Regions from separate parts of the Homo sapiens genome. Here all the other regions are linked to region 2. The links are contacts of gene promoters, found by promoter capture Hi-C in blood cells and fetal thymus (Javierre and others, 2016). All regions are on one chromosome and are shown on one strand. Each heading gives the region's core, a stretch centred on a gene start or on the middle of the fragment in contact. The rest is flanking DNA. Distances are from core to core; before and after follow the strand shown.

Evidence for each region. Contacts are between HindIII fragments. The CHiCAGO score rates a contact against its expected background, and 5 or more counts as called.
Region 1: a contact is called between a fragment that was not itself captured here and the fragment with the promoter of NUDCD1 in region 2, in 1 of 17 cell types (M2 macrophages). The highest score is 7.0, in M2 macrophages.
Region 3: a contact is called between a fragment that was not itself captured here and the fragment with the promoter of NUDCD1 in region 2, in 8 of 17 cell types (total CD4 T cells, naive CD8 T cells, fetal thymus and 5 more). The highest score is 14.4, in total CD4 T cells.
Region 4: a fragment that was not itself captured here is called in contact with the fragment with the promoter of NUDCD1 in region 2 in 2 of 17 cell types (total CD8 T cells and naive CD4 T cells); the score reaches 7.0 in total CD8 T cells.
Region 5: a contact is called between a fragment that was not itself captured here and the fragment with the promoter of NUDCD1 in region 2, in 5 of 17 cell types (total CD4 T cells, naive CD4 T cells, total CD8 T cells and 2 more). The highest score is 10.1, in total CD4 T cells.
Region 6: a fragment that was not itself captured here is called in contact with the fragment with the promoter of NUDCD1 in region 2 in 1 of 17 cell types (M2 macrophages); the score reaches 5.4 in M2 macrophages.

The regions. Positions count from the first base shown.
Region 1 is chr8:110,833,034-110,838,058 of GRCh38, forward strand. No RefSeq gene overlaps it. Among named protein-coding and RNA genes, the nearest start is that of LINC01608, 190 kb to the right of the region's middle. The HindIII fragment of the contact is 4,863 bases long and covers 1-4,002 here.
Region 2 is chr8:109,330,694-109,335,374 of GRCh38, forward strand. It overlaps NUDCD1 (NudC domain containing 1), which reads right to left and starts at 3,394. Exons shown (of 10, transcript NM_032869.4): 1 at 3,200-3,394. The coding sequence starts at 3,317. It overlaps ENY2 (ENY2 transcription and export complex 2 subunit), which reads left to right and starts at 3,654. Exons shown (of 5, transcript NM_020189.6): 1 at 3,654-3,781. The coding sequence starts at 3,776. RefSeq lists enhancers at 3,086-3,135, 3,266-3,315, 3,498-4,420, 3,686-3,935. The HindIII fragment of the contact is 6,990 bases long and covers 2,114-4,681 here.
Region 3 is chr8:108,227,732-108,232,400 of GRCh38, forward strand. It overlaps EIF3E (eukaryotic translation initiation factor 3 subunit E), which reads right to left. Exons shown (of 13, transcript NM_001568.3): 6 at 1,339-1,464; 7 at 536-660. Among named protein-coding and RNA genes, the nearest start is that of EIF3E, 19 kb to the right of the region's middle. The HindIII fragment of the contact is 4,278 bases long and covers 201-4,478 here.
Region 4 is chr8:108,271,476-108,276,061 of GRCh38, forward strand. All of the region lies in intron 2 of LOC105375704 (a long non-coding RNA gene), which reads right to left. Among named protein-coding and RNA genes, the nearest start is that of EIF3E, 25 kb to the left of the region's middle. The HindIII fragment of the contact is 2,017 bases long and covers 525-2,541 here.
Region 5 is chr8:108,204,697-108,209,330 of GRCh38, forward strand. The region is part of intron 10 of EIF3E (eukaryotic translation initiation factor 3 subunit E); the gene reads right to left. Among named protein-coding and RNA genes, the nearest start is that of EIF3E, 42 kb to the right of the region's middle. The HindIII fragment of the contact is 1,795 bases long and covers 897-2,691 here.
Region 6 is chr8:107,806,515-107,811,227 of GRCh38, forward strand. No RefSeq gene overlaps it. Among named protein-coding and RNA genes, the nearest start is that of RSPO2, 270 kb to the right of the region's middle. The HindIII fragment of the contact is 5,175 bases long and covers 825-4,713 here.

The DNA of each region.
Region 1 (5,025 bases), core at 321-2,820, 1.5 Mb after region 2:
AGTGGTCTCCACCACAGGCTGGACAGGGTCAAGGTGGCTTCCTCTTGCTGTTTGGGCACTCCTTAAAATGCCCTTGCCTGCCACACTGATAGCAACTAGCCGATGTACCTCAGGGGTCCTGGACTTTGTAATCCTGCAAAGCAGCTGCTAGAGCCTTTGTTCTTCTCCTGAGCTTCCTCTTTTTCTCTTAGGCCTCCTCCTGGTCCCTATTATAAAAGACCAAAGTGGCCACCTTCAGGAGGTTCTCTAAGGTGCTCTCTGGTCCTATAACTTGCTTCTGTAGTTTCTTTGTAATATTGGGAGCTGCCTGTGCCATAAATTTGTCCTTTAGAATGAGCTGTCCCTTGACTGAATCGGGGGATAAGGAGGTGGGCACTATTCATGCCTCTTTCAGTCTTTCCATAAAGGCTGCAGGATTCTCATCAGAATTTTGGTGTATCATACACAGTTTAGAATAATTGAGAGATTTGGCCTTAGTTCTTCGTACGCCCTTTAATATGCATTTTAAAAAGTCCTTTCTTTTCCATTTATCTGCAGAGCCATTGAGGTTCCAATCAAGGTTGTCAAGAGGAACTGCTTCACTCCCTATTGGGAATGGAGTTTCTGCTATTTCTTCACTTTCCCTATCTCCTTTCTTCCCTTTTAGTGTATTATAGGAGACACGTTGCTTATCTCTGAAATTCTCTACTGCCTGCAGAGCTGACTGCTTTTTATTTGTGGTTAAGGTTTGGATTAGGAGCAGCATAACATCCTTCTATCTGAGGTAAAACATCTGAGTTAAATTCTGAAAAGCTATGTACCTATTGGAGTTGTCAGAAAATTGGTCTAAGTCTTTATTTGCCTAAGGGACTGTAATGAGAAGGGAGCTTGAGGTGGCCCCAAATAAGGGGGAATCTCAGATGAATCCCTTGGAAGTTGCTTTTTTAATTCTGGGGGATTATTCTCTGTAGGCCTGCCTGATATGCCTGTTAAAAAGGCTGGGTTGACCTTACAATGCTTGCAAATGTTTAGTAGAAATGCCATGCCTTTGTGCAAAAGAAAATGAGTTGCTTTTCTCTTCAAAGTCCTGAAGTTAAAGGAGTACCAGTGTTTCAGGGTGCACTCCAGTGGGGTGCAAGCTGAAGTTGGTTTGTTACCTATCTACAAAAATAAATGAGAATAAAAGTGTCCTTTTAGTTTCTCTCCTTTCACTGTGACCCAGGGTGGAGTGGAATACAGTGGGAGCATCTGCCTGACTGTTTTCTCTCCTTGGTTCCTGAGTCCTGGCACCATGTTAAATGTCCTGGCCATGGTTCCAAGTGTGGCCCTCCAAGCCATGGAAGTGGATGAACTAAGTAATGGGATTTAACCACGCTTTACCCACACAGCCTTAGTTATCCTCCTGTGAATCCATTTTGATTTCCAAAACTTGTGTGATCTGCCTGGCTCTGAAAAAATGGATCTCTGAAAGACTGTAATAGTCACTTTTGAGCAAGGCTTCTTTAACGGAGGGAATGTGCTAGTTGCCTGCTATTACGGCCCCGTGCTAAAACATTCACCCTTAAGGAAAATGGTTCCGGTTACATTCTAAACTTAAAATCCCCTTACCTAATCAAGTACTATTTTAATTGGGAGACAGAATAGGTGCCTGAAATGAACGTAGAGGCCTAATGGCAATTTCTTCTGTAGATGGGACAGTATTGGAACTAAAATTTGGCTACAAAGGACATTTTACTCCTAACTGTTGAAGGCAGAGCTTTCCTATTCACAAAAGGGGCTTTTCTAGAGGCACAAAAAGAGAGAATTGGGAAGCTGCTGTATTAACAGCAAAGGACCTACAATGTGCCCAATCAAGAGGGTTTCTATTTCCATTAGGTGGTGGTATTGGCTGAGAAATATCATGTGCTCACCAGTACTATGGCATTTTCCCAACAGAACTGTTTACATGAACTGTAAAACTTCCTGCACATTGCATAAACAGAGAGGATAGAAGACATAGCAACTGTGGTTAGAAAAGAAGGAAAATTTTGTGACAGGATAGCTGGAGATCCATTACCAACAACCAGATGGGTTGTTGGAGGCCTTTGAATAATGCCATGTTGTGCTTTGGCCAAAAATCCTCAGTTGCTCTAGTATTTCTCCCACCCGCACATGATGTCAAGGTTCTCTATGAAAGAAAATTTGTTTGAAGAGAGTCTTGAGACTAAAGGACAGATTTGAGGTTCACTCCATACTCACCACTCCAATGTTTCTATCTCCCTTCTGATCCAGATCCCAAAAGAGTCCCCAGATGAAATGGCTTTGTTGTCTGTGGAATTACCTGTGGTTTGTTGTCTCACACCTAGAAATAATTCAGTACACAGACACACATGAGGAGTGGGTTTAGGAGAAGGAAGTTTAATTGACAAAGAAGGAGAAAGAGAGAAATCTTCCTCATGCTGAGAAAGCAAGTTGCCCAAGAGGACATCTCAGGGTTTTGGATGGAACACAATTGATTTTGTACAGAGGCTTGAGAAGGCAGTAATTGATTTACTTAGGGCTCAGGGGATTGGCTTGACCAGGTGTGCCATCTACATAGCCCACAAAAAGACTGGGCCTTCTCACCCTAATCTTTTATTATGCAAATGTGGCTTCTACCCAAAGGTCACCATGACACCTACACACGTGGTTTTACCTGGCTGATGCCATGGTTCCATGACACCCGCACACATGGTGGCAAGAGAAAAGGAGCAGGAACTACCATATTGAATGTACCTGGCTTCTAGGTAGAGCTGCTGGCATTTACATATGAAAGCCGATGGCTTGCATATCTATGCTTGCAGCTTGACTTTTAAGACTGCTTTCTGTTAGAACAGAAATGGTTTGGGGGCTGCTTTTTATTAAAGGAAAATTCCACTAAGAACTCTTTTACCCTTTCTAGCTGCCTAAAAATAATTTCTTAATAACTCTTGTATTAATAGTAACCAGGTAAGCTCAAAGCCAGAAATAGCCTCATTTAAAGGAACAAGAAAATTGTTCCAGTTCAACTGTTTCTCCCTCAAAGCAGAACAGCTCACATTTGAGGAGGATAAGCCCAACTTGTGGCTGCTTCCTCAGAAGGGAAAGGAAAGAGTGGAGTATGCTTCAAATGTTTTAGCTTTGGGGGTTAGATGCCTGAGGAGCTGATTTCTGTCTCATCTATTTCATGGCACTGATGGGAAAAAACACATACTTTGAATGCCTGTGGTTGCTGAGCACAAAAGAGAGCTCACTGGATTTGTTGTAGCACCAGAGAATCTACAATGCCACAGTTAGACAACAGGGGAAGTAAGAAACGACAAAGCCTCAAAAAGAAAAAAAAAAAAGGAAGAAGAGAAAAAACCCTGCAAACCTCTCTAATTCAAAAATTACATTCCAAGCCCAGAGAAGAAGAATCTCCATGAAAAATTGAGAGGTCCCCAGAATTTCCAGCTTGGCTGATTTATGGAAGTGTTTCCCTGTATACAACTGGTTCATGAGGACTGAGACAGGAGGTTGTTTTTTAAAAAGGCAAGAATCATAACAAAAAATAAAAAGACACCCAAAGAAACAGAGAAGCATGACCCAATCAAAGAAAAAAAAAAACATCTCCAAAACTGCTCCTGTCTATGAAATATAAAACAAGGAATTCCAAGTAATTATTCTAAAGGGGCTAAGGGTGATATGATAACACAGATAGAAAACTAAATGAAATTAGGAAAATGGTGCATGAACAAAATAAAAATATTAAGAAAGAGATAGAAACTATAAAAAAGAACCAAATAGAAATTCTGGAGAATATAAACTTTTAAAAAATACCAGAAGGACTCATTAGCAAACTTGATCAAACAGATGAATAAGTCATTAAACTTAAAAGGTCATTTAAAAATATCGAGTCAGAGGAACAACAACAATGAAAATAAAAAACATAAAGAGGTCCAAAGGACTCATGGAACACCAGCATGCTGATAAATGTATCCATTATTGGTATCTCACAAGGAGCAGAGAAAAAAAAATGAAGAAGAAAGCTTATTTTGAAAAATAATAAATTCTGATGTCTGAGAGCCTGTGAAGATGCATGTCCCAGCTCAAGAGAAAAAAGAAAGGTTTGCCTTTTCCCTAAATGTTTATTCTATTAAGGCTCTCAAGGCATTGGATGATGCTCACCCAAATTGGTGAGTGCATATCTTCTTTACCAGTCTACTGATTCACACTAATCTTTTCCAGAAACACTCTCACAGATACACCCAGAAGTAACATCAATCAACTATCTGGGTAACACTTAATTCAGTCAAGGTGACACATAAATTTAACAATCATAATGTGGACTTAAAAGGATCCCAAATTGCCAAAACAATCTTGCAAAAGAAAGCAAAACTGGAGTTCTCACACTAATTAAAAAAGATATTATAAAGCAATAGTAATCAAAAAGGTATGGTACTCACATAAAGACAGGCATAGAGACTAATGGAACAGAATAGAGAACCTAGAAATAAACCCACACTTATGTAGTCAGATGATCTTTGAAAATGATGCCAAGTCATAAAATGGGGAAAGGATAGTCTTTCCAACAAATAGATGCCCACCTGGAAAAGAGTCAAGTTAGACACTTAATTAAAAACATAAAAATTAACTAAAAATGAATTAAAGGCCAAAATGTACTACATAAAACTATAAAATTCCTAGAAGAAAAAATAGAGAAAAACCTTGCTGATATTGGTATTGGCAATAATCTTCTGCATATGACACCAATAGCACAGGCAACAAAAAGAGAAATAGGCAAAAGGGACTACATTAAACTTAAGAACTTCTCCATGGCAAAGAGAGTAAAAAGCAACCTACATAACTGGAGAAAATATTTGCATACCATGCATATGATAAAAGCATAAAATTCAAAATATATAAAGAACTCCTACAAGTAAACAACAACCACCGCAACAACAGCAACAGCAAAAACAACAGCAATAAAAATATTAAAAATGGGAAAAGAACTTGAACAAACATTTGTTCAAGGAAGATATACAAATGGCCAACAAGCATATGAGAATA
Region 2 (4,681 bases), core at 2,144-4,643:
ATACTATGCAGCCATAAAAAGGAACACAATCATATCCTTCAAAGGGACATGGAAGGAGCTGGAAGCCACTGTCCTCAACAAACCAACGAAGGAACAGAACACAAAACACCACATGTTCTCACTTGTAAGTGGGAGCTGAATAATGAGATCACATGGACACAGGGAGGGGAACAACACACACTGTGGTCTGTCAGAGAATGGGGTAGGGGGAGGGAGAGCATTAGGAAAAATTGCTAATGCATGCTGGGCTTAATACCTAGGTGATGGGTTGACGGGTGCAGCAAACCACCATGGCACACGTTTACCTATGTACCAAACCTGCACATCCTGCACATGTACCCCGGAACTTCAAAGAAAAAAAAAAATCGGTCGGAGCAGTGGCTCAGGCCTGTTAATCCCAGCACTTTGGGAGGCCGAGGCAGGTGGATCGCGAGGTCAGGAGTTCAAGACCAGCTTGGCCAAGATAGTAAAACTCCGTCTCTAATACAAAAATTAGCTGGGCTTGGTGGCGGGCACTTGTAATCCCAGCTACTCCAGAGGCTGGGGCAGAGAACTGCTTGAACCCGGGAGGCGGAAGTTGCAGTGAGCTGAGATCGCGCCACTGCACTCCAGCCTCAACGACAGAGACTCCGTCTCAAAAAACAAAACAAAAACAAAAAGAAACAAACAAAAATTAGCTGGGCATGGTGGCGGGCGCCTGTAATCCCAACTACTCGGGAGGCTGAGGCAGGAGAATCGCCTGAACCCGGAAGGCAGAGGTTGCAATGAGACGAGATCACACTACTACAGTCCAGCCTCCGCAATAGAGCAAGACTCAGACTCAAAAAAAAAAAAAAAAAAAAAAATCTTCAAATGGCACCTGATATCCTGCAGCTGTACATCCCAAACACAGAATCTAAGATTAACGCTGATGAAATGAGTACGGAACAAGGACAACTTTGTGAATTTTTTCTAAAGTTAAAGTATTCAATGGATTGTTTATTGTGAGATTTTGCTTCCTGCTTTTTTGGTGTTAAAATATCCTTTTGTTTATGAAAAGATAGATGAGTAAATGATAGTTTTTAAGAAACATCTCCACCTAGTAAACAGAAAAGTTGGCAGAACTACAGCAGCTGAGTTTTATTTTATATTGTAATGGCTCAATACAAAAATGTCAGGGAAACACTGAATGACCGGAAATCCAAGAAATCCAAAAGGCAAACAAGGCCCTCACTGATTTATTTCCTCTCACTTTCCCAGACGTTTTGCTCCAGCAATATAAGAGTGCAAGGATGTCCAGCATACAACCTACTAATTATTTCCCTTTCCTCATGCTTTCCCATGAATGGAATGACCTCAACAATTTCTTCTCTTCTTCATATACTCATTTTATTGAATACATCCTATGTGCCAAGCACTAGATATAGGGTAGTGAACAAAAGAAAAACATCACTGTTTTCAAGGAACTCATAGTCTAGTGGAGGAAACAGACAACAAATCAAGATAGAATTTAAAAGGCCGATAAGTACGTCTTATGGAGAATGCAATGACGAAGCCCAAAAGTGAAGGCAGGAAGGCTAGTCAGGAGGCTACTAGAGTTCAGGTAAGAGATAACTCTGATTTGGATTAGGGTGGAGGCCTAGAGATATCAAAATGTGGAGCTGACCGGACTTGCTACCAAGCAGACAGTGGCTAAAAGAAATAAACCCCAAATGACTCTGGCACAAGTGTCTCTTGGTACCAACCTGGGCTAGTCTAGTCGGCTAAAGGATAAGAGACCACACGGAGAAAAGTCAAGAGGAGACCATGTGAAAGAATCTTAAACAAGCTTATAGTCTGAGACCCTACCCCCACCCTCCAAACATATGAGGAAGTCCAGCCAAATGAGCAGAGCTTCCCAGCAGATCCATTACTGAACAAGGATGCATCAATGAGCCCAACTAGGACTAGAAGAACCACTCAGCTGACCCGTAGACTTGTGAGCAATAATAACTGCTTCTTGTTTTGAGACACTGAATTTTGGCTTCACTTTCTAATGCACTAACTAAACATGGTGATACCATCTACTGACATGGGGTGACTGGAAGAAACACGGTGGCAAAGAGGAAAAGGAAAAAAATAAAAAGAAAAATCAAGCTTATCCTCTCTCATCCTAGTCAACTCTTAACCTACCCTTCAAAGCTCAACTTAGATATTAACTCCTCCAAGACGCCTTCCCAGATCCCCAGACTAGTTTAGGAAAGATATTCAAGTACTACCATTGTATTTTGTACATATCCCTATCACTGCCTTCCCATATTGTTTTACAATTATCTGTTTACAATTTTCTTCCTAACTAGCTAATAGTCCTCTTTTGTTACGGAAGGTGTCTTGTTCATTTTGATATTATCAGGACGTAACACAAAACAGGTACTCGGTAAATATTTCTGAATTTAATAAATCAATTAGCATAAACTTATTTTATACTTTAATGTCTGTTATTATAATTAACTGTAGATCACTATTTCTCAAAGTGTGATCTCTGAAAACATGCATCAGAATCAGCAGGGGTGTGAATTTTAAAATGCAGATCTCTGGGCTCTATCATAACGAAAATGCCGTTAAGTTGTAAAAACAAGAGTAAGGATATTCTACCAGCTACAGATAAAGCAAGGAGTAGCAGTGTGGGAGTAAATCCACTTTTCCTCACTATCTTCTAGAGATGTTCTCTACCAGAGTTCTTAATGTGCCAGGAACTGAGTAATTAAAAATGCTATGACTGGAATGTAGTTTCTCTTCTAAGAAACGGCTCTCGGTCAGAGGAAACAGGAACTGGGGGTCCTCCAAGGAGGTGTGGTTTCTCAACGCACACGTTCACAAGCGATGCTCCAGGAGGAAGGAATGTTCTCAGCGTCCCCCGAAACAGAAGCCAGGCTGTGGACACACAGCAGCCAGAGCCCCAGGCACTACCCGCACGCCAGCCCTCAGACCTCAGACCTCAGAGGCTGGGCTGCTGACGGAGGGGGCCCAGGGTCCCGTTACCGAAGAGCGCGCGAAGGCGGCTCCCACCGGGTTCTGGGATGGGCATCATTCCCCAGAAGCAGCGGCCTCCGTGAGTCCACGCAAGCCGCCACGGTGGCTTCGCTTGCCAGTCAGAAAGAAAGAAATTGCGGGAAGGGTCAGGCCGGAGGCAGCCGAAAGGGGAAAGGAACGGAGTACGAAGGGCGCCGCCGCTTCCCACCTGCGTCAAGCTCCAGCTGGTAACAAGGCAGCGGCTCAAGAGAGAGCTTGTAACCCTCGAAGCGGGGATCCAACAGAGGTCTCTTCACCCGTAGGGAGCAATTAGCCGCCACCTCCATCGCTTTCCAGGGCCGCAGCGTGAGAATTAATAAAGCCCTTGTTGAAAGGTCCGCGCTTCACGCCTCGCACAGAGACTGGGAAGCGGCGTGGTTCCCATCCCAGAAAACACTGCGGTGCGAACTGCCTTCTGGGAAATGTAGTGTCCGTGAAAAAGTTGAGACTGTTGCATGCTGGGCTATGTAGTTCTCCTGGTACTTAACGCGCGCGCGACGGCAAGGTCTGAACTCTGTTACCCAGAGGCCCTAGCAACCAGGAGGCGGCCCGCGCTGGTTAAATTCTCACATTATAGGCAGGGTGGCGAGACCCCGCCCCGGAAATGCGTGTTCTAGCTTTCTGTGTGCTTAGGTGCCCGAGCTACTGAGGGTCTAAGTCCGGGCAGCCGAAGAGTGTGGTAGGTAACGGTCCTCAGCGCAAGGGTCATTTCGTCGCTGGGAAGGGACGGCCCTCGCCCGCGGTGATGGTGGTGAGCTATGCCCGTGGTCCTCAGGGCCGGGACCCGGGCCCAGCCCAGGCTCCTTTCGATGTACTGTCTTTCGTTAGCGTCCCCGACCCGCGCTCGCGGGCCTGTAGGGCTCTCCGACAGGGCGTGCTACCGGAGTTGGCCTGAAACCAGTCCTCGCTTTGTTTTCTGGCTCCTCCTCTCCCGCCTCTCCCGCTGTCTCCGCCCTGTTCTATTTTCCCTAAGAATGTCTGAACTGGGAGGGATACCCTAGCGCCCTTGTTTTACCAGTGAGAAAACTGAGGCCTTTAAGAATTAAGTGACTTGTCCAAGGTCACTATCCGTATTTTAGGAGCCAAGACGAGATCAAGTTCAATATTCCAGGAGTGGTACTGACTAGACCTTGTAGTTATTTTGAAAATGTTAGCCTCCAATTACAAAAGCAAGCATTTCCTAGTTCTCACTCAACTTCTCCTTTTCCCTGTTCCTCTCAAAAAAGAAAAAAAAAATCAACTCTGGTAACTCATTGCCAGTCTGAATTTTCAATAGGCCAGATGGAAGACAACAAAAGTAATCTCAAGTTAGTGACAGATTAGGTGGGAAAACGTTAGTTTACGCCAAGTTTTATTTAATTTAAACTTTTAAGTGGCTTTAACGCTTTCAAAACCTAACTTTCCTCTTCTTTCAACATCATTTTGGTTTGGGTTGTCTGTTTTTACTGACAATTGAGGACTTTGTAAGTTAGGAATTAGTTTGAGATTTGTTTTCTTCTTATCCCACCAGCAGTGTGTGTGTAAACACACACATCCACACACTTAGGTTTAGCAGTTGTAATTGTGGGTTCATCCTAGTGAAGAGTAAAGCAAAACACTTAGAGCCTTATCTAGTAATTTTATTTTTTTTGATTAATTAATTTTTTTTTTT
Region 3 (4,669 bases), core at 1,090-3,589, 1.1 Mb before region 2:
GAAGTTTCAGAGGTATTTGAGTTCCACTGGAAGAGTAAATTTTACAAATAATTTCTAGCTTACAAAAGAATGGTCTAGTTCATAAGCAGTGAATTTCTCATCACCAAAATATTAAACAAAAGCTAGTTGACAGAGCAAAGATGATATAAAAAGATGCACGTATTCCTTTCAAGTAGTATGCCCTAGAGCCTCATTTCTAAAGCTTTGATGTTTACATGAGTTACCTGGGATCTTATTAAAATGCAGATTCTAATTTAGTTCTAGGGTGAGTCCTGAGATTCTATATGATTTCTATGCTGCTGGCCCAGGGACCACACTTTAAATAGCACTTTAAAAGGCTTAGGGTACACTCTGTCAAATAGTTTACTTAAGAGTCACATGCATACTTTTCAGTAACAAGCAAATCTACTACATGAAGAAAAAAAAAAACAGGTGACAACAAATTCAAATGATAGAAAAAAGTATATTTTAAGTTTAAACAACTCCATGTAATTTTATCTAAACAAAGCCAAAATTACACAGTGAAATAACTTACTGTGGCTGATAAAGGAAGAGGTCAATAATATTATCGCGACCTTTGGGGTGATTGAAGAAAACAAACAGAGACCAGTGAATGAGCCATGTTCTCTGCTGAAGAGACTGAAGTGGAGAACTCACAGACTAAAGGATTTAAAAATATATACATAAAAAATATTAATATATAAGAAAGAGGCAGGAGGACAAACATCACTAACTTCAAAACTGTAATTAAAAATGAGCCCCTTCTAAGGCATGCACGGAGGTCATTATGATCAATGTCCGACCCCCTATGCCTTCTCTCTACATGATCCCTCGACATTCCAAATTATTACCCTGTTCTTAGAGACAGATTCAATAATGTCTACTGAAGACGCTCTAATTTATAAACTCTTACAGAAGTTATAAATTATAATCATTTCAGAAAACATTTTAAAAGCAAGAATTAAACTGAACATTTCATAGTAAGTGGTTTAATTAGATAATTGTAGATGAAAACTGTCTTCTGCATAGGACTTTCAATAATAGGTGGCACTAACAGCATAGTGTCATTTTGACTGGCATAGAAAAAAAGGGCACAGTAGCTGTAAAACAGAAATGAAGGCTACGTTTTTTCTCTAAGAGCCAAAAGAAGTCTGACAATTTCATTCAAGGAGATTCAAACTAGTCAAGCCACTAATCCACTATGATTTTTGTAAGGTCAACAAAAGCTAATATGAATTTTTTTTTTTAATTCCCAAAATGCATAGTGATTTTCCTCATCAGAAAGTGTGAAGGATACACAGATATTTCAGAGAATAACTGTGAAAAAGTCGAACTCACATTATTATCTATGGTCTCTTTTAACCGTGTAAGGTCTTCCATGGCTGCATCCCAATTCTGCATTAAGATTTCAGAGGCCAGCTTTCCCCAGAGTGAACTTAAAGCATTTCTATCTGTTGCTGGAACCTGTTTAAGAAATCATAATTAATTATATTGTGAATACTCTTGAAAAATGAACATAATGTATGTTTTATACCCATGTATCCCTCTAGCCTACTAAAAGACCTATAGCTTTCTACAAAAAACTGTAATTATCTAAGTCCTTATTGGATCACACTGGTTTGTTTCAAAAAACCTTTGCTAAAAATACTCAGGTCTTCAATAATCAGTCTAGATAAGAAAATAAAAAATAACTTTTATAACTAGGAAACAGCAGCATCATCTTACTATAACCCACTTCAGATAATTTATACATAACTAATCAAATTTCAGGCACCTAAAACTTCAGAAACCAAGTTAGATTTACATGTAATTTGTCACTAAAATCACTAGGATGAAGATGTGGAAAATCAAGACACGTGAGTCTCATTTACAATGTAATGAGAAATTATGTACAGAACCAAAAAATATTTCCAAATTATGACACAAATGGAAGTCAGTACGGAGAGAGGGAGACAGGAAAAAAGCAGGCCCACTGATTAACAATTAATAGTTATCAAAGGATTATGTACTGAGCAATACAAGTTAGTGTTCTCCTGTAATCCTAACAAAAACCCTATATTTTTTTATCCCCATTTCAAAATGGGAACTAATACATATAGAGTGTAACTTGCCCCAAATTACACTTCTAATCATGAAACCTATAAATTTTACACCACAGTCTTAACCTAAAAAAAGAGGGGACTAAGGGCCATCCCTACCTCTTCTATCCGCTGGTAAAAGAGTCACAAACTCAAAACATCCATAATGACCAGGCTAATAACAATGAGCAAAGCTGGACTCCCTCAAAACAAAGCAGCAGAAGTAGGTAAACTGACTCTGAACCGATCAGATGTGCTAAAGCAATAGAAGCAAGTAAGGGCAGTAGAGGGGGAAGAATACATGTCTACACCTCAAGATGAAATTTCAAATTTAATTTTTTACAGAAGCACTTTTACATAATAGTATAAATATCAAGAGATATCATAATTACAAGTTAAATTATATGTGCAGGATCAGAAATCCAATCAAGAATTCTGTCTCTACCACTTAACAGCTAGTTTGTACTTTAGCTTCCTCACTGCAACATGGGGATAGAACCCACCTCAGTTGTATAGTTTAAGTGACATAAGACATACAGGGATTACAATTATCACCTGATACAGAATAAGAACTTGGTAAATCTGAGTTACTGAAATGATGATGAAAATCATCGCAGAGATAGGTATACAGATTTACATATATTTACATATACATTTACATACGTAAATTTATATTTATCTATATGTAAATGTGTATACATATTTACAGATATATGATCTAAACATTGGGGACCACAATACAAACTCAGTCTATACTGAGATTCTTCCTTTCAAATGTACTAAATAACATTTGGCACACTAAGAGCAGGCAAATAACACAGGGAGTAGATGTGTAAATTAAATTTTGAACCACTCCTGGTTCTAGTTATTATCACAAAGTATATCCACAATACAACTTGTACATGCATATTCATACTAACTTTATTTTTAATAGGCAAAAACGAAAAGTAATCTAAATGTTCATCATCAATAGATGAATATATTAAACAGACCATGGTAAATTCACAGAATGAAATACTACTGAGCAATAAATAGAAACTAACTTCTGATACACACAATAACATGAACCTCAAAAACTTGCTGGTAAAAATAAGCCAAACACAAACATACATAGTACATCATTCCACTTACATACATAAAATTCTAGAACAGGCAAAACTAATCTACAGGGACAGAAAGCAGGTCAATGGATGCCCAGGACCATGGGTGGAGTATGGCCACAAAAGAACAAAAAGGGTCTTTCTGAGGTGACAGAAATGTTCTTTATCTTGACTTAATGTAGCCACACAAGTACACAAATGTTTCAAAATTCATTGAAAATTTAAAAACTGGTTTATCAAAATCCATAAAATAATTGTTCTAATTACAAAGGATAAAATGTTTAATTCTTATAAAGGATATCTGAATATAAAAATATATCATCGAGTCAAAAATGCCATCAATTTTAACATACATTATTATTTTATGTTTCTAAAACCAAAAACCCAGTAAAGACACTTTCTGATTTCAGATGTTAAAATATGCAAAACTATGCTTGAAGATCAATATTAAATGCACAATTCTTACAGTGACATCACAACAGGATACAACAGAGCCAGAATTTCAATCAAGATCCTAATGCCTCTAAAAATTATCATTACTCATACTGTCTTGAGCCTCAAGGAAAAATATTTTTAAATGAAGTGGTATATACAAACAGGAAATACATTTTACATCCTGAGGGAGGGAAAGAGACAGCTCCAAAAGTATAACAAATAGTCCTAGGAACTAAAATCACTTTTATTTCAAAGAGCTGCTGAATAAGGGAATGGGGTATATTATGGAGCCAGATCAAAGGCCACAATGAGGGAAAATTTTAACAAAATAATCAATAGTGCTAATAACTGTTAAAGCAAAAGTGTTCAAAAATTCCCACCAAACCAGCTTCGTCATTTTATTTCAATTAACACATTTCTTGGAGTATAAATCAAAGAAGTTTCACACCAAACAGAGTGTACCTGAACAATTCTCAATGTATTCTAAAATCCACGAGTCTTTTCTTTTTTTTTTTAAGGGCAGATTCTAGGGTCACACAGCTTTAATTTATACAACACTGACCTACAATAGGTCATTTGGAGAGTCAAATTCTAATCTCAGATCATAGTTACAATAGCTCTTTCATAGCTTATGTTTCCCTAACCACAGATTTAAAAGAATAATCAACCACCAGAAAAGTATTTAGAAATAAAAAAAGGCCACTGCAAAAAATAAAATTAATTAACTAAAAAGTAAAACACTGACATTTCTCATCCCAAATCCAAACAAGATTTTTAGATTTGCTATTAACAAAACTTCAAACAAATACACAGATCTTGTGGTAGTGGCTATCTAAATCAAAAGAAAAAGATATCTATTCTTTTAAGCTTGGCACTGTTAGCCTGCCAATATGCCAACAGGAAGCAACAAACTCTCGCCTAACACAAATGTTTTGTGGCTCAGACAGGACAAAAATTTTAAAACGAATTGAATGTAACTTTTTAGAATTTCCAGTAACTCTATGTTGACTGTTCTTGATGTAAAACATATTAACTTAGTGTTTGTATCACAGTATT
Region 4 (4,586 bases), core at 283-2,782, 1.1 Mb before region 2:
ATTGTGTCTTCATGCATAGACACCATGCAATAACGTATATGTGTGTTGTGTGTGCATGCATAGACACCACACAATACATATGTGTGTGTTGTGTGTGCATGCATAGACACCGTGCAGTAACATAGGTGCACCCCATAAAATAAAAAAAGGAAAGCAAAGAGAAAGTTGGAGTTAGGGAGAAATGAGAAAAACAATGGTAGGGACCACTCAGAGGTGCCCTTGATAATCTTAAGTACTATCAGTAGCTGTTTCAATAAAACATACTTTATTGGTCTATGTCCAGAAAAATGGCCAAACTTGTGTTTTGATCTATTTGCTTATGTCTGTCTTGTTTCTCTCTAGAAATATGTTTCATTTTTCAAATCTTTGCATTTTGGTGTAAAAAGTTAATCTTCAATTTTGACCAATGAACATTTCCATGAAAAAAAAAAAACTTTTTATTCCACTTTCTTCATTTGTCACATAATCTTTGATGTATGGATTTGTGAACTTTTAAAAAATGATTTCATGAATAAGATCAGAAAAGCTTTATACATACGTACGTATGTATGTATTTTGTTGGGAGGTAGAAAACCACCAGTATGGAGTATTTCTTTTATTAAACATAGTTGAAAAGTTCACCAAAAAGGAGCTTTGTTCCAGGATAAAAGTCATTTTCAAGAGCATTTAGGTAATAAATCATGTGGAATTGTATTTTCAATACTTTATCATGAATAGCAATCAATCACTGGTTTCTTGATAGAGGGTTACTTTTTGTAATCAACTTACAGAGCTCATTACCCATTGAGTGTGAGTTCCTTCAAAAGTGGAAGCAATGCACTTATTCCAGCAATGTGATCATTGCTCAAAACTCATTTTTAAACTTGCCTTAAAACTAACTGCTTTTAAATGGAGCATTAAAGAGTCTCAAAAATAAATCAATTTCATTTATCTGATAAACTCACCTAGTTTTTATTCCATAATGTACATTTATTTTTCAGTTTGACCATTCATTGACTTGACTTTGAATAACTTCTATTTGGTTCCAAAAATCAAGTCTACCTTTGTGGAAAAATAATTTGCCACCAGAGGAGGATACTCAAAAGAATATGCTGCTATATTTTCTAAAAACAATTTAAGCTACAATATTATCATCAGAATAACCTCACCTGGGGAGGTTACTTTGAGAGACAGAATACTCAGAAGTGTTATTTGTGGTATGTTTTTACTAATATCCTGACACAATACTATGACGTAACACAATAGAATCATAAGAAAATAGATTTAATGAGGGACAAGCTACCCTTGGTGTTTTTCAAGTCAAATTTTACAAATAAAGAAAGAGGCAACTTAGGCAACCTAAGTAAGTTACAGAAGGCTAGCCATATTCTCAGTTGGTGATGGAGGTTACGGAGATCCAAGTCTTTTTTTTTTTTTTTTAATTTTAGGGCTTTTAAAAAACCCCTATAATATAGTGAGCTGAATTGGCAAGTGGCTAGCAAAGTTTAATCTGCAGATGTGCTCCTATTAGCTGGAAATTTTAAAATATGATTGTAAATACCTTTAGGTAGGGGGAATAATTCTTCACTTCATATTAGCAACAGGTTTTAGTCATGTCTGAAACATATGGCCCTTGGGTAAAGTTGTTAGATTTAGCAAATAAAAGTTTGAATTTCTGATAACACTTAATTTTTTACTCTGAATATGCTCCAAACATTGCATGGGATATACTCATACTCAAGCTATTCATCGTTCATTTGAAATTAAAATTTAACTGGGCATCATATATTTTATTTGGCAAACATAGCTTTGGAGGATATGAAGCATATATACTGCCATTTTGAATCCAGTCTACCAGCCAGATGTGGCAGAAATATTTACTATTCACTAAACAGGTTTAGGTTCTCCCACATTTTGCAGCTTCCTTAAAATTAGGCAGAGCCATATGACTAGTTCTGGCCAGTGCTATGGTTTTACAAATGCTGTTATGTCAGTTGACTAATATACTTAAAAGCCAAACACAATTCTCCAGGTCACTCATTGCCTGTTGCAGTGAACTAGAACCATGTGTTCAAGATGTTCTAGATTCAAGACCCAGCAGCCTTGGATCCCTGAAGAAAAGTTGGATCGAAGGTACTCAGAAGAACCACGGGACCTACAGCATACTTTGTGTGTGTTGGGAACAATCCTTTATTAGTTAATCCACTGAAATTTTAGGGTTGGTTCGTTCCTGCAGCTTGGCATAAACTATCCGGACTAACACACTGTATCATCACATGAATTAAATAAATTCTGTGAGTCTAACTTTGTTGTTGTTGTTGTTTAATCTTCATGGAATTGCCATCAACTTGTCAGATTTATTTGGAGGACTGAATGAGAATTACAAGTAAAAGTCTTCAGCATTCTGTCTGCTGCCTGGTAGGTTGCAGCAAATGAGACCAATATTTAATGATAACATGTCCATTATGAGTATTATTTTAATTATTATAGCAATCTTATGAAATTGGTGTTATTATCTTTTCCATTTTATAACTTTCCGTATAAATTTTATAAGGAAAATGAAGCTTGGAGTGGTTAATAAATTTGCCCAACATCATTTCACAAAGCTCTTGTTAAAAATAGAGATAAGTCTCTATTCCAGAACAGTCTAACTCCAAAATCCCTATTTTCAAATCCATGCCACATACATATTTTCCTGTGACATACAGAAGCCTGTTTCTGTGTCATTCATTCATTTTTAACACAAATATGAATTCAGATGCAGTGGCTCACACCTGTAATCCCAGCTACTTGGGAGGCTGAAGCAGGATAAACCCTTGAGCCCAGGAGTTGGAGGCTGCAGTGAGCTATAATTGTACCACTGCACTCCAGCCTGGGCAACAGAGGGAGACCCTGTCTCTTAAAAAACAAACAAACATTTATATATATAGATTGATTGTTGACCTCATAAAATGCCATGTGTGTTAGTATGTTTTTGTGTTGCTAGAAAAGAATACCTGAGACTAGGTGATTTATAAAGAAAAGTGGTTTATTTTGGCTCATGGTTCAACTGGACTCTTGATGCGCCCCTAGTGGAAATGTTCTCCTTTGGAAAGCAGAATCTCTAGATCCACAGAACTCAAAGATCTATGCTACAATAATAAAGAAACCTTAAATTTCAGTGAAGATCAATCTTTAGGTCATTTAAACAATTAGCAGCCAAGAAGAGAAGAAAAAGGTAGAAAAGGAGACCAAAAAGGAAGTGGTCAGTTATGAGGAGGGAAAAAAAAGTGTGTAATGTTGCTGAAGCCAAAAGAAAAAAGCATTTCAAGAAATAGAGTTTGATCAATTATTATCAAATGCTGCTCCAAGAAAGGTACAATAAGTTAAGGAGTGAGAATAGACTACTAGATTCAATAAGAATTAATTAACTTGGCTGGGCACAGTTGCTCACATCTATAATCCTAGCACTTTGGGAAGCGGAGGCAAGAAGAAGACTTGAGGCCTGGAATTCAAGACCAGCCTGGCCAACACAGTGAGACCCCCATCTCTACAAAAAATAAATAAATTTAATTATCCAGGTATGGTGGTGTGCACCCATAGTCCCAGCTACTTGGGAGGCTGAGGTAGGTAGATTTCTTGAGCCCAGGAGTTGGAGGTTGCAGTGAGCTATGATTGTGCCACTGCACTCCAGCTGAAGAAATGATGTCCAGACACAGGGCTCATGCCTGTAATCCCAACACTCTGGGAGGAGGCAGGAGGGTTGTTTGAGCCCAGGAGTTCAAGACTAGCCTGGGCAACATAGCTAAGCCCTGTCTCTATTGAAAAAAAAAAAAAAAAAAAGAATTGATGGCCTTGAAGAATGTATTTTCAGTGGCGTGGAGGTGAAGAAAGACTAAAATAGAAGGAAAGAAAGTGAAGATGGCGAGTATGGATGCTTTTAAGATGTTTTTCTATAGATGGGAAGGAGAGGTAAAGAAGGTACCTTAAAGCAAAAGGCACAAAGGATTCCTTTTTAAGGTGGGAGATATTACGGAATGTTGATGGAAATAACCCAGTAGAGAGGAAATGACTAAAGCCGTTTGATTCTTTTTTTGTCATAGGTGTCTAACAAGAAGTTCTCAGTAAATGCTATTTACTCTGATTATTTTATGCCACTTTTAAAATCAGACCTTTATCATTATAAAATCACCTGCCCCCTTATCTTATTGATTTTTTTTATTTCTAGCAAGTTTCCAAGTATGTCTTCAATATACTTCAAATTTCAAATGTCTATGAATGTTGCTATGAAAAATAAGAAATAGGAAAGTTTACTGTTTCTTATGACCATGTGAAAATAAAGTTACATACATTGTTTTGGAGGGAAGGGGTTATGTAAGCCGGTTCGTAATTGAATAAAAACCTGTTATCCTCCACCCCTCCCCCGCAAATAGTTTAGAAGTATGATAACGTTTATTATTTGACGAGACTTTTGTCAGTAGTCAATACTAGAATGCCCTGTGGATGTGTAGGGCCACCAAGCCAAAGAAATAAAAAATACAAACAACCACAACACACAGAATAAAGAATATGTTCAGTGGAACTGTTGCAGAGCATGAAGCCCAAGTTGAGTGTTCAGATAAAAACTC
Region 5 (4,634 bases), core at 544-3,043, 1.1 Mb before region 2:
CTCCCTGGAGCTATATACTATATATAGTATGTATGTATATATATATATATAGAGAGAGAGAGAGAGAGAGAGAGAGAGAGAGAGACAGAGAGAGAGAGAGAGAGAGACTGAATTTCAGATAAAAGAGACAGAGGGAGCAGACCAGACCATGAAGATCTTGATCTAAAATACTCTTTGATATCAACCAATCTGCATTTTGTATTTTTCCAATTTTATGATCAGGTTGAAGAGGGCCATTGCAGAGCTTAATTTATCAGAATTAAAAACACACCAGTCTTAGTAAATAGGTTAAGTCAGTTCCGCTGATGGAAGAGTACCTACATATGCATGTAAAATATTTAAGAGTATGTAGTATACATGCATGTATGTATGTGTGTTTATATACTGTCTTTTATCTTCATGGAAGCTATCAGGTCTCAGCTAAAATAAGACCCTCATAAGCCTTCTAAGACACCTCTCCCATCTGTGATACATCAGTTAGGTGCTTTCATAGCACCTATTTTTGCTATAGTTGTTTTACTGAATATCTGCTTCCAAGGTAGACCGTATACATGTAACCAAAGTGCACGCACCGTATCTTCCTCATTCACTGCCGTTATGTCCAGCAATTAGCAGCATGACTCCTCATACACAGGAGACGATAAATATTTACTGTCTGATTGATTCTTATTCTAGTCACTACCCTAGTCCAGGCTCCATTACTATTTCTTAGTTTTCTAACTACTTTACCTCTTGAGTCTCTACAATCTATCTTACACATCTGCCAGGTTAGTTCTACAACCCAACTACAGTAGTTCCCACTTATCCGTAGTTCCACTTTCTGTGGTTTCTGTTATCAGCAGTCAATCCCAGTCTGAAAATATTAAATAGAAAACTCCAGAAATAAACAATTGATAAGCTTTAAATTGTAAACTGTTCTGGCTAGCATGATGACATCTTGTATTGTCCTACTGTCTCACCTAGGACTTGAATCATCCCTTTGTCCAGCATATCGACACTGTATACGCTACCCGCCCATCAGTTACATAGTAGCTATTCCAGCTATCAAGTGTCTTGATATCACAGAGCTTATGTTCAAGGAACCATTTTTTACTTAGTAATGGCCCCAAAGTACAAGAGTAGTGATGCTGGCATATTGTTATAATTGTTCTATTTATTATTGTTGTTGTTAATCTTCTACTGTGCTCAACTTATAAATTAAACTTTATCATAGTTATGTGTGCACAGGGAAAAACCTAGTCTGTATTGGGTTTGGTACTACCTGCAGTTTCAAGCATCCTCTGGGGGTTTTGGAACATATCCCCTTGGGTAAGGGGAGACTACTATACCCAGTTTATTTCCAAATTCCTTTCAACACTTTTAACTTTCCAAGTTCCCATCATTCTCCTTCATAAATATAACATGCCAGCCAAACCAAACCAATCCTTTTACTTTGTTGACATTTACTCAACAAAATACCAACCGTGTTAGATGCTACTGGCAAAACATCCTCTGTTGCCAGCCTTTACAGAGTTTAAGTCAAGGGGGTCTTGACTTAAACATCGCTTGATCTTGGGAGGCAGAGGTTACAGTGAGCTGAGATGGCATCACTGCATTCCAGCATGGGCAACAAAGTGAGACCCCCATGTCAAAAAAAAAGAAAAAGAAAGAAAAAAGAAAAAGTGGAAGGACCTATGTATGTGAAATGCAAAAAGGTCTACCAGTTCTAATCTGGAGATTTGGGAACAGCTTACCTAAGGAAATGATATTTAATCTTAGATTTTTAAGACCATAGAGTGAAAATTCCATTCTAGGCTGGATGTGGTGGCTCATACCTATAATTCCAACACTTTGGGAGGCTGAGGCCAGAAGTCTGAGACCAGTCTGAGCAACACAGCAAGATTCTGTGCACATGTGCACACACACACACACACACACACACTGGCATGGTCGCACAGACACACACACACATACACACGCACGCACGTACAGTGGCCTGCACCTATAGTCCCAGATACTCGAGAGGCTAAGGTGTGAGTATCATTTGAGCCCAGCAGTTTCAGACTGCAGTAAGCTATGATTGCGCCACTGTACTCCAGCTTGGGTGACAGAACAAGATCCTGTGTCTTTATAAAAAAAAATTCCATCTTATGTAATAACTCTAACTAGAATTCTCTATCCCTCTCTCTTTCTTTACATCCATATTCTAAGACTCATTCCAACATAGCTGGTGTAATTTTGCAACAAGCATCAAGATCCATAAATGCCTGCACGCTCTGAGCCATATCTTACTTTGTGGATCTTTGTTTGCACTGTGCTTGTTGATCTTTTATTTGTTGATCTTTACTTTTCGAAGTGAATCAGGTCAAAGAAAAACCTGAAATAAGGCCCAAGGAATACTAGTAAATAATTGATGGCATCTCAGTTTATCTAAGCTGCTGATTATCACTCTGACTGAATTAAAGAATGTAGAAATAATCTGGTTTCAGTAACATGAAAATACACTCAGTAAAAGAAACCAAATGATTAATAGGCCTGTAATCTCAGCACTTTGGGAGGCCGAGGCAGGAGGACTGCTTGAGCCCAGGAATTTCAGACCAGCCTGGGCAACACAGCAAGACCCTGTCTCTACAAAACGCAAAGGAAAAAAAAGGACTAATAGAAATCATCAAAGTCTACAGATATTAAAATAAAAGTGTAATATCCTATCAAAGCTTAAAAGGCTGTCCCTGGTGGTCTAGTGGCTAGGGAGAAATAAAACCAATTTTAAAAAGACAAAAAGTTGGCGTAACCTATCCCAGAACATGCTTGCCTCATGTTACTGAAAATAATTCAATTTATTAATAAACTAAAAGACAAAATCCATCAAAATGCAGAATTTCTGAGAAAAATATCTAGTCCAATCCAGATTTTAAACACCCAAATTTCTAGATTATTTAGATTACACTAAAAATCTCAACCTTGTCTGTAGGCAGCTTAAGGTAGATACTTAAATATGTTCTGTAAATCCTTTATAAATATCTTTAACCTAACTAGCTCTGCTGCTCAACTGACACACACACAAAACACAACATCGAATATGTTAAATAAGATATGCACAGAATTCTTAAGTGCTATTTCAAAAGACAAAGCAAAAACAAATCTTTCATCCTCAGTTCAATTTAATTAAACATGTTCATGCTTCTAGCACAAAATGAAATACTTTGTTTCCAGGAAGTAAAAAATAACAGAGATCCCACTTAAGGACACAAGATAAATTTAAGTCTTGATTTAGGGAAATATTTTTTTGTTTCCAGGAAGTAAAAAATACCAGAGATCCCACTTAAGGACAGAAGATATATAAGTCTTAATTTAGGGAACTGATAAGGGTTGTATCAACTCTAGATTTTCTATCAGGTTTTGAGTGCCTAATCTTTCAAATGGTCTTACTTTTCTAAACCCTCCCATAGCCACCATCTTCCCCCAACCTCTCATCTTAACAAACACTTGGAAAAATAAGGCCTGGGGATCTGATATTTCACCTGTCTTATTAATTACCTCTTTGAATAACCTGGCTTTCCAAATTTTATCTGATAGGCACAATTTATTTCAAAATACTGCTGATTTAACCATTTGGATATAGAAACCTCTGGTCTAGTTTTCACTGAAGACTACTGGCCAACTATTCAGCATATCCAAAGAAAAGTACTCCAAGTCTTTTCTAATTAGTTTAAGACAACTAATTAAAGAATCAGTGTTAAGTGTAAACTATGTTTAACTGTATGATTGGGAGGAAACAGGACAAAGAAAAGAGGAGAAAATTGAGAAATGCTAAATCCTTATGTGAAAACTGAAAATTATCTCTTTATAATCTTATAAATAACTGAACCTTATTGATAATGCAGAAATGCAATGATAATGGCCTTTGAAACTGTTTGTCTCCATACATTTACATTCTAAATGTAAATTGTTATGTGGTAATAAGAACTTTAAGAAAAATATTAAGAACTAAAATATAACTTAATAAAATAAGCAAAGTAGAATAACTTCAAAACTTAAGTAACCCCCATTGGGAAATTATACTAATGTATGCTCCAACATGTTTATCATACACATCCAAAATATTACTTCCATAATTTGTTTTCATCTACAATTGAAAACTCGTCCAAGAATTATTTTAGAACAGCTTTTAAATTTCAGACACATACCATAGCTGATAAAATGATTCAGCTATACTAAATTAAACCCCAACACAGTAATCTTTTTTGACAGATGTTGCAAACTTTATGGTAAACAGATTTGTAACTTATCCTACATATCAATAAGGTTGTATAAAAACATATAAAACATTCTTAATATGCATTTTTATAAAGCTGACTATCACATGTGCTTACAGGCATTTAGTCAGGAAATCTATTAACAGAGAATGTTCCAAATTACAAATAGAGTTATTTAATAAACAATTATGGGTTTTATAATACTATTTTCAGCATTTGAAATGTGTCCTTTGGTGGGAGAAAAAGAAGCTGAGATATATCCTTTCCCTTCCCCCTCAAAAGACAGAACATCAGATAGCTTTAAACTAATTAAAGGCAAAAATAAGCCAGCATAAACTAGTGAATGGAATAATATGCCATAGTTAGTATTCAGTGGAAAAAAGTCTATTTTGGGGCTTA
Region 6 (4,713 bases), core at 2,162-4,661, 1.5 Mb before region 2:
GAGAAAACACGATGGAAGTCACAGTCTTCTTATAACTTACTCTTGGAAATATCCCATGATTTTTGCTGTGTGTTATTCCCTAGAAGAAATTTTCTAGACACAACCCATATGCAAGGGGAGGGGATTACACAAGGGATAGAATACCAGGAGGAAGGAATCACTGGTGGCATCTTAGAGGTTGCCTACTACATGCATTTATGTTGATGAGATTGATTACTGGGATGAGCAGTCAGACTACTTGAGTTCACATCTTAGCTTTATTATTTGCTAGTTATGGGATCTCCCGCAAGTTACTGTTCTTTGTTCCTCAGTTCCCTCATCTGTAAAATGAAACTATTAATATTAAATGTATTTGTTCTCAAGGACTTAATGTGGATTAAATTACTAATAAATGATTAAAAAACTAGAATAGTGCCAGGCATGTGGTAGGCATTCCATGAATGTTAGCTAGCATTGTAGTAATAATTCTGTCAGATATGAAATATCTTGTCTAGCTTATAGTGTACATTCAAAAGAGAAGGCTTTTATACTTAGCTTATGAAAATAATGTGGCATAAATGAAGTGGTCACAAAGGCAGCCAAAGCTACAACAATTCTTGGAAAAACTAGAAAACTTTTCTTATGTTGGCACTGAGCATTTTTCTGGACATAGTAGATACTATGGTATAAGGAAGTACTTCATTACAGTATCACTTTCATATCTATTTCATTTCCCGATTTCATCAATATCCTACTGCCCAAATGAGAATATTTGCTGCCCACTGAGGAATTAATTATGGGCTTATTTGGCTAATGTTGCTTTGCCAATTGACTCTCTGGTGTCAAGCTTTCCTCAGCCTGCTTTCATTGTAGAACCCACCAGCTGTATACACACAGACCCACCCACAGACATACAGAGATAGAGGCTCAAGCTCACACAGAAATAGAGATTCAGACACACTTCCTGGATATAAATCTTAATTATACTTGAAAACTTACGAATTTCATAGAAGTGCTTACAAATAAACATGTTGAAATAATGAGATTTTTACCTGAAACTCCTCCTATAGTTCTCAACTTGGTAAATGGCATTTATCATTTCCATCTGCCCAGACACTCAAACCAAAACTGGGAAGCCACCTGGTCTTCCCTCCTCCTCTCTTTTCCTGTCTGGTTCCTCTCTTTTTTCTATGCAGTCCCTTGGGTACTTCATTTGACCCCCAAGTGTAGCTGCCTTAAGCTCCCATCAACGTTCATCATTAGAGTGAGGCATTGAAACTAACTTTGGCCTTTAGGAATGAGCCTAGGTTTGAAATTAGGCTGAACAAACGAACTGGGGCAATGTTTCCGTCAGGAAGGAGACTGCACACAGTGATTCCCCACAGCAAGAGGAGTGCAAAAGCACACCTTGTCCCTTTACTCTCTCAACTCTCAATTGCTTATCAGAAACAAACATAAATAGCAAATCAACTCATGTGTACCATTGCTCTGAAACTGAATCTTTCATAAAAGCTGAAACAAGGCCCTTGCATGCTAGCAGTAAAAGAAAACACATCACAATTCTTACAATGCCCCAAGGCCAAAGTGAATCCCTCTTGGAACAGAGGAATGCTTCTCACTTCACTCCAGCGATTCAGCTGGAACATCTTCTGGCAAAGAGATATCTTGAAATATAAAGGTATTAACCTGAGAAGGGTAGTATATCAAAATGCTGTTATCCATTTAACACTGAGACTATCTGGAAAACAGCAAGGTCCTCACAAGCTGGGACTTGGATACATTTTACAGAAGTTTATAGAAGTAAACTCCTAATCAGGTAGCAGTGTTCAAAGAAATTATTGACAGATTTAGCTTCAGAGTAAGAAATTCTAAGTTGCCAAGGAGTAACATGAGGACTTTGGCTGTTTGATTCCAACTATTTCTGGATGAAGAGGACAGTGTTTTCTCATTGGTTCACAAAGGGGAACCTCCAGATCAGTCTCTGCAGCTGGGCCAAGTTCCACAACTCATACCCATTCTGGTCTCAGTCAGGTTCTAGTGACCTCTCCCCTTCCCTAATTCCTGTTCTGCATTTGCCATGAGCAGACGATTTTGACTTTATCTCAAGCCATCAGATAGGACAGGATCTTTCTAAGACATTGACCACAGCAGATAAAGACAAAAAAAATAAATAAAACCACAACTCTCTATCATAGAACACTGAGAATCAAACATATTGTTAGAAGTCAGATAATCCAACCTTTTTGCAGTTATATAAATTTTGAACATCCTTAATTAAAACATCATTTTTAACAGAGATCTTATGTTCTTGTCTTTCCAGCATCCTTTTCTTTGGTATTTTGTTAGCTACTCCCTTATTTTATTTTGAAGAACTATCCCTCCCACAATTTTATTTCATGTCGTTCTGGTGAAGCTGATTCTACTTCTGGCTTTTGTGAGAGGTGTGTTTTTTCACCAGTCTCAAAAGTGGCGGTTGAAATTATCTCATCTCCAGGCTGCAGTGATTGGCTCAGGGTGGACATGTGGCCCAAGCCAAACCAAATATAGCTAATCCTGGGACTATTGCTGGAATTTTTTAAGAAACAGCAACTCTCTTTTTTTAAGGGATTGCTAATCAGGCAGGATATAGTCCTGAAACTTCTGGAGGCCACAGTGCTTCCTCTTGGAGACAGCCTGCCTGAGAATGAGGCCAACAGAGAGAAGCAGAGGTTGTGGTTGGAACAAATAATGTTCCCGGAGACATTATTTGATTACCTGGATTTAGCCATGCTGGGACATTTTAGTTAAATAAACCAGGATATTCCTTTTTGGGCCAAAGGCAACTTATGATGAGTTTCTGTCCAATAAAGCGCAAAGCAACCAATTCACCTTCTACAACTTCCATGGCAGGAAGTGATTAGCCTTCTCTTTAATCATTCCAGATGGACAGATCTTCATTTTCTACCAGGACTCTGGGTATTGGGTTCTGAGGCTCAGTTCTTCCTTGTATTGAGCAAAATCTGCTGTCTTTAATCTGTACCCACTACTAATGCTTTATTTGTTCATGCAGTTCCTTGTTTAGTTAGGGAACGGCAAGTATAAGAGATTTGAGGTGGATTCGAATTTTTGTATGTTGAAGGAACACAAAGCAAAAAACCAAAAACTAATAGGTCTTGACCCTAGTGAGTGAGGGGCATGGAGACATAAGTGGGTGAAGGTCTGTCATAGGAAGATTGGAGTTCATTGCAAGAATAATGAAAAGTCACGGGAGTGTTAACACACAGGAATAGTGTGGTTTGAGCTACAATGTTTCAAAGATCCCATATTATATCCATTGAAGCACTAGAGGAAGCCAAATCTCTGTGCTACTGACAGTCCCTCAGAAAGTTGAGATCTCTGGTATCCTCCATAATTTTCTTCTTTTCTAGCTTAAATATCTTTGGCTTCTTCAACCATGTTTCATATAGGGTTTGTAGATTCTACAACAACACAGTATCCTCCTCCAAACTCATTGTAGTTTGTCAATGTGCCCTCTAAAATACAGTACTCAGATTGAACACAGTAACTCCAGATATTGCCCAACCAATGAATAATATGAAATCATTATTTTCTTTATTCTATCCCTCGAGCCCTATTGGTGCAGTCACATTTAAGGCAACCATGTCATCCTGTTAACTCTTAATTAAATCAATAATGCTAGCTGAGGGCATATTACTTTCAATTAAGTCAAGTTCTAATTAATTGTTATTTTGTGAGAGAAATATACAGAAACTTATTTTCTGAGTGGATTAAAGACTCCTTGAAGGTCTTTATATTACAAGAAAACAGGGACAAAAGTTGATCTCATTCAACTTTTGTACCTACAAATTGAGATAAGAAAAAGTGAAGTTTAATTTGAACAAATGACCCGATTGTATCTGGAATTATTAATTTGAACAAATGACCAGATTGTATCTGGAATTATAATCCCATTAGGGGATTAGCCCGTTTGTAGCCACCATGGAGAGAAGCCTTTAAGGAATACATATTTAAAGCCATTTGCAACCAGCTCTATTATTAAAATCAATTTTAAAGCATCATAAAAGTCTTTTGCTCCAGAATTAGAAACAGTTTTAACAAAAGCATTGAATTTTTATGTTTGAAGAATCTTTGGAAATCATCTGATCCAAAGTTTTTATTTTATAGATAAGCCAATAGCCATAGAGGCAGAGAAATGTCCAAATTGACTTATCCAGGCAATAATAGAACCAGAACCAGAACTTAGATCTCTTCTCTTCCATTCCAGCACTCTGCCTGCCATAACACATGCCTCCTTTCTTCAGCTTTGACTGTACACTTGAATGTTTTCATTTCAGGGGTCTGTCATTCATGAATGAATTGGGGGAGAACAAGAGTGAATGTGGGGAAAGCCATCTTAAAGATTGTTGCAGTGATTCAGGGAAGTCCAGAGTTCTGAAACAGGGGAAGGGTAGAGGAGGTATGTAAAGCTGCACATATTCCAGATATGGCTAGGAGTTTGAGAAAAAGAGAAAAAAACGAGGATGAACATTGAGTTTCTGACATGAACAACAAGATGGTTAGCAACGCCATTCACAGAAAAACTAGGTTATAGCGGTGAAAAGCAAGAGATTAGTTTGGCCCACTGATTTTGTGCAACATTCTACACACTCAGTTGGAAATGTCCTTTAGGCAGTTGTAGATACATGTCTGGGGTTCAGGAAGAGAAAGTGCAATAAGTACCTTTGGCTCACTCTT